Regions from separate parts of the Homo sapiens genome. Here region 2 is linked to region 1. Evidence: promoter capture Hi-C in 16 types of primary human blood cells and fetal thymus (Javierre and others, 2016). All regions are on one chromosome and are shown on one strand. Each heading gives the region's core, a stretch centred on a gene start or on the middle of the fragment in contact. The rest is flanking DNA. Distances are from core to core; before and after follow the strand shown. Region 1 holds the start of RC3H2 (ring finger and CCCH-type domains 2). Region 2 overlaps RABGAP1 (RAB GTPase activating protein 1).

The links. The method cuts DNA at HindIII sites, captures the fragments that hold promoters and counts their contacts. A CHiCAGO score of 5 or more calls a contact.
Region 2: a fragment that was not itself captured here is called in contact with the fragment with the promoter of RC3H2 in region 1 in 1 of 17 cell types (megakaryocytes); the score reaches 5.5 in megakaryocytes.

What each region holds. Positions count from the first base shown.
Region 1 is chr9:122,904,057-122,907,015 of GRCh38, forward strand. RC3H2 (ring finger and CCCH-type domains 2) reads right to left here and starts at 1,303. Exons shown (of 21, transcript NM_001100588.3): 1 at 1,054-1,303. RefSeq lists a silencer at 758-1,407. The HindIII fragment of the contact is 2,040 bases long and covers 1-1,925 here.
Region 2 is chr9:123,036,268-123,039,167 of GRCh38, forward strand. All of the region lies in intron 13 of RABGAP1 (RAB GTPase activating protein 1), which reads left to right. It also overlaps a transcript of GPR21 not described here. Among named protein-coding and RNA genes, the nearest start is that of GPR21, 4.1 kb to the left of the region's middle. The HindIII fragment of the contact is 1,057 bases long and covers 946-2,002 here.

The DNA of each region.
Region 1 (2,959 bases), core at 53-2,552:
GTTAACCAAAAGTTCCTACTGGAACTTAAAAGTTTGGCCAATACAAAATTGGAAAAAAGATTACTTAAAGCACTTTATTTGGGATACAAACTCACCCACCCACAATGGGTAGGGGGAGAGTAGAAATGAAAAAAAGGAAGGCCGTGGGTAAGGGGAGAGGAGGAATTAAAAAGGGAACCCAAGGGTTATGAAAATATAAATAAATCACTGGATTAGATTTACTTTATGCCAGTGATTACTTGAGTCAATTTTGGTGTGAAGGATTTATCTGCCGGTATCTTAAACGGCTGCCTTGGGATTTGAAGGATGGAAATGACAGCTACCCTCATCTTCTCCCATCCTGAAAGCTAAGGATAGAAAAAAGTACAGCTGCTTCTCTGGGAAACAAAGATGCTTTCTACCATTCTTCTAAGATGGTGGAAGAGTCTCCTCAAGAGGCTACACCAAAAAGGAAAAATGAGAGAGGGAAAGAAGAAAGCCATAGCAGAATTTCCTGGCTGTGTTTCATGCCATTGCTCCTAGCCACAACCCCTGTGCAACCACTCAGGTCCGGCCGTCCCCATCCTGGGAGGTTAAGCCCTCCCAGGGCATTGTTTGGCCGGGGTTCCTATTTACCACTCAGATCGCCTCCACCACCCTCTACGCTAGGGTCTCGGGAAGCCCCAGGGCAGAAAGCTGAAAAGCTAGGAGAAGACTTGGTTTCGAGGACCTCTTCCAAACCCCCTTACTAACTGGTGTAGAAAAGGGAGAGTGAAGCCGGGCCTTTGCTTGGGTGGGTTCGTTAGGGGTCAGAGGCGTCCGCTCGGCCAGTGTCGAAGGAAGGTGGCCATTTGAGCCGGTCGCTCCGCATCGAAAAAGCCCTACCAGAGAGAGGGGCCTCCGCAGGGCCCGGGTTCCATCCGAGTGTCAGGTGCGGCCCTCAGTTCCCAACCCTCGAGGCACCAGGGGCGACAGCGCACAGGCCCCAGGGCTGAGACTGGTCTCCCGCCCGACCGCCGGGGACCAGGCACCCGGGCTGGGGCCCGAGCCGCATCGTGCCCGCCCCCGCCCTACCTGAGGGGGCCCGGGCGGGGTCGCTAAGGGCCGCTCCCGGGAGCCCCGCGACGGCGCGGCTTGGCGACGGAGGCGCCTCGTCTCGCCGGGGCAGAGCTCGGCGGAGGTTTCACGACCTCAAACTCCATCGGGAGCTACAGGGACAGCCCCGTTGGCGGCGGCGAAGGCCGCGACGGGGCCTCCTCCTCCTCCCTCCACCTCCGCCTCCTCCTCCTCCTCCTCCTCACCACGGAGGCGGACCTGGAGGGATCCCGATCTAGCTCTCGCGAGAAGTTACTCCCCACTTAACGCGAGATTACGCAAGCCCGGGAGTCGGGAGTTGGAAGGAAAGCGTAGTAGCCCCAGCCACCCAAACTGCGAATCAACTTCCCTCTGCCTCAGCGGATCCACCCCGATCACGTGACAAGGGAGCCCCGGAGCACTGTGGGAGGTACTGTGAGAAGGACTAGGCAAGCCGAAGGGATTGATGGGAAATTCCCTGCACATTCATCTGCGCCTTGAGCCGGCTTCCTAGACGCTGGTTTGAGCGAGTGTCTTAACTCCCTTCGTGAAAAGCGTGGAATCCATTGAGCAGAATCTGATACATCTGTGTCACATTCTTCTTCACACTCCTGTGATGACATGCCGACAGGATCCCTCAATCCCTTTACAAAGATGTCAAGTAATCTCCCCATTACAAAAACAAGAAGAAAACATGTATTTGGCAGGCACTTCCACATCTCACTTCTTTATTAAAGAGAAAACTCTGTTTCTAGACAAAGAGTCCAAAGTGGGGGGGGGAGGGGGGGAAGAAAGCTCTGAGCTCCTCAAAAGCTGGCAAAAATAAAAAATTTAAGCACAAATTCTGGCATCATATCTCAAATATTTGTTGAAGCTTTTTACACAGCGAACTAAGGTAAGAATTATTCTTACAGTTTATAATTTATAGATGAAACAGACTTGGAATAGGGATATCAGAATTAACATTTATAAACTACTTAGTATGTGTCAGGCAGGTCCTGTGTTAGGTGATATTTAATTTTAAATATTTTAGTTTTATTTACATTTCATTTAATTAGCAAAGTGATCCTAGAAGACAGATACAATGTACCCCTTGTTACTGATGAGAAACTAAAGAATGTAGGCTAGAAAATGACCATGACGCCGGGCGCGGTGGCTGATGCCTGTAATACCAGCACTTTGGGAGGCCGAAGCGGGTGGACCGCCAGGTCAGAAGTTAGAGACCAGTCTGGCCAACATAGTGAAACCCTGGCTCTACTAAAAATACAAAAATTAGCCGGGTGTGGTGGCGGGCACCTGTAATCCCAGCTACTCGGGGGGCTGAGGCAGGAGAATCACTTGAACCCGGGAGACGGAGGTTGCAGTGAGCCGAGACCGCGCCATTGCACTACAGCCAGGCGGGGGGGCAGTGCCAGACTCCGTCTCAACAAAAAAAAGAAGAAAAAAAATGACCATGACTTGTAATTAAACTCAAGGCACTTTCCAATGTGAAATCAGATGCCCAACAACAAAAATATCGAAGTAAACCTACGATAAATTAGAATATGGAAAGGTTGCTTCTACAGTTTTAACAAAATATATAGTTATTACCTATTATATTTGTCTGAATGACAGGCAAAAATCAGTGTTTTTGAAAAAAGATTCATTGGCCACATCGAAGACGTTTCTTCCACACATTATCTTTTTCGTTCTCTTCTCTTTATGAAACATATGCCAGGCCTAGAGAACTGTTAACAACCAATAATTGTTTCAGTAATTTCAACTGGACAGTGATAGGTAATTTACATGTACATATTTGTTTTCCACCCTACTGTGTATATATATATATACACACATATATACATATATGCACATATATACATATATACATACATATAAATATATATACACATATATAGATACATAT
Region 2 (2,900 bases), core at 224-2,723, 130 kb after region 1:
ATTATACAATTTATGAAAAACTGAGCTACTTTTTGTGCCATGCTTCACAGAGATCTAAAGATATGTGTGCGTAGAAGTAATCGTGTAGTACTTTTGCCCATGCCTTTGTGTTATGTCTATATTTAGAATATCTGAATTGTTAGATTTCTCTTTTACAGCAAAATGTGCTTAAGCTAAAAAGTAATTCAGTGATAGGCTGTTGGCTGTCCATTTTATAATGGTGACTATATACAAAAATGTGTCTTTAATATTGTCTGTTCTTTCTATTCAAAGACTTCTGAAATATTAGAACATCAGGGAGAAGGGTGTCGGTCATAAGCAACTGAGTCAGAAAGTATACCGTAGTATACAGATTGTTTTTTTAAAATACAAGGTAGTTGAGACATTTTCTTTGTGGTTAAATGGAATCAACTAGTTATTTTTGAAAAGTATTCTTTCAGTTAGTGCTAAGGAATCCACATTTGAAGAGGAGAAGGGAAAACACTTAAGTCTCTTATTGCTATTTTCTCTCTGGAAAAAAAATCCTTTGGCATACAGTTCTTAATGGTCTTTTTTTTTTTTCCTGCCAAAGTACTAGAAAAACCTATAGGATTTTATAATTCTTCTATAGAATTATTATTGAGAGTTATGTGTGTTTGTATGTAGTAGTGATGTTTGTTCTTAAAAGTGATTATCTTTAGAGCAAGAGGTTTATTTTTCTAAAAGGAGAGAAGGAATTCCGGCAGCTCCAGGCACGAGAGTATTTCCTCTACTTTTCTGCTGTTCTGGAAATGTTCTGGAAGTCTTCAAGGGACTTACTTGATCTCTGCCTTTGGCTAGAGGTTGTAATCTGAATGCGACAGTGGTGTTCAGTGAGATGGAAGATGGAAGAAACCCAGGGGACATGGGTTAAAGTGGATTTCTGAATCCAAGAAAGGACATGGATATTTATAAAGCAGGCAGATAAGCTTTGGTTTTCCATCATGATGCCAGTGTTCTTATGATTTTAGGCTTTAGACATCAACTTGATTTTAACCTCAGTTGTGTTCTATTTAAACTTTTTTATTTTAAGTGACTAAGCATTACATAAACATTCAAACTTCAGATTCTGGGTTTTTCCCAAAACCTTGCTTGCTCTTTATGTTTAGTGTTAGCAAATTTTATTCTAAGCTGCTTCAAAATTTAGAACTCATACTGAAATTGCAAGTTATGTTAGAAATGGCTTGGTTAAATTGCCATTTCAAATGGGAAACCTTTTCTGTTAGATTCTGAAAAATGGTTGTATTGTATACATTTTCCCTTTAAGTGGTACAGATCTAAAAAACCAAAATTTACCTTTTTTCATACATGTTAGAGAATGTAACCTGTTCACATTTGCAGTTTGCTTATGAATTTTTAGTTTAGAAAATATGGCAATTTTAAACACTTAATTTTTGTTGAAAAATTGATATTAAATCAGCAGGTTTGATCTTATTTTGTTGTGTGTGTATGTGTTGGGAGAGAGGAGATGCTCCTGGACACAGTAGTGTCCCCTTTAGTGGCTGGGGGTGTTTTCTGTGTGATATATTTGGAAAGTTCATGTTTAACTGAACTTTTCATCCTGGCATATTTAATGCAACATTTGATGACATTTAGTTTAAATACCAGTCTGACTTCAAAAAAAATGTATTTTTAGATTCAGTTACCATGGCGTTGGCGGGATAGCTCATTTAACTTTATATGGCATGTGACTGGTATCAGAGGAAACATATACTTTTGGTGATTATGTTGAAATTATTTCATAGTAAATTTTAAAGTAGGATTATACTGATGTTATATTTGTAAACTAGTTGTATTTTTTAATGCAGTGATTTCAGTGAAAGTGGTTTTTTCCCCCTTCTTAGAGTAGAAAAGCAATTACAAATGGACTAGTGTGCTCAACTTTAGTGAGAGCATTATCCTGACACTAGATTGGATATTTGCGTTTTTTTCACGGGCCTATTGACTCTTACTCAAAATTCCATTTTGGAAAAGGTTTTCTTTAAGCTTTATTGCTGGATAAATTCTTTTCAAGCCTTTTATAATGGCTTTTACTTTTTACTTGAATAATGGTCTCAGTATTTTAAGGATTGGGAAAACTTGAATTTTTTTTTACCGTAAATGCATTGCCCACCTCCTTGAACTTGAAAATGAAGCAGCAGGGTTAGACTCCCAGATGGCCCAGATGGTGGAGTGGTTTCTAGGAGGGTTTCCTCAGCTTTTCAGGTTTGTTTGAAAAATCTGCATGTTGACTTGGTATAGGAATTGTTTTAATTTCACTGAGTATGTTTTTGTTTCATAGTTGTTGGTGAAATTACCAGCAAGCCAAAATGTATTGTTACATGAGCAAATTTTGGGAAATTTAAGAATGGGAAAACTGTGGCATTGAGATTTTTTGAAGTCCTCATAAATCATTTTGTGTGTTGACTTTTGTGTAATTTTTTTCATTTCAGGTTGAAGAAAAAAATATTAAGTATTTATATTAAATTTATATATTATTAATATTATGTTGCAGACCTTGGAAATATTGTAGACATTTCTTATGGCTGTAAACGAGTCATTTGGCCTTTCTTCAAAATTTGCATGACAAAAGGGCATCATATAGTAAAAATGAAGTTGGAACTGAGAATAAAAAAATGTAGGCTTCTGTTTCTAATTAAGTAGTTTTGTAAATGAGGGCAAGTCACTTCTCTAAATGCTTAATTTCTCCTAGAAGGAAATATTGATCCCTTCATACCTCATAGGGTTAGTTTGGGGCTTGCGTTAGATAATAGATGTGAAAGTACTTTGTAAATTGTAAAGTGCTTTGCAAATAAAAATCATTACTGTTATTTGTATCTGCCATTCTTCTACATGTAAGGAAGCCATACATCATGATGTGTTCCCCCACACTTTGATCTTTG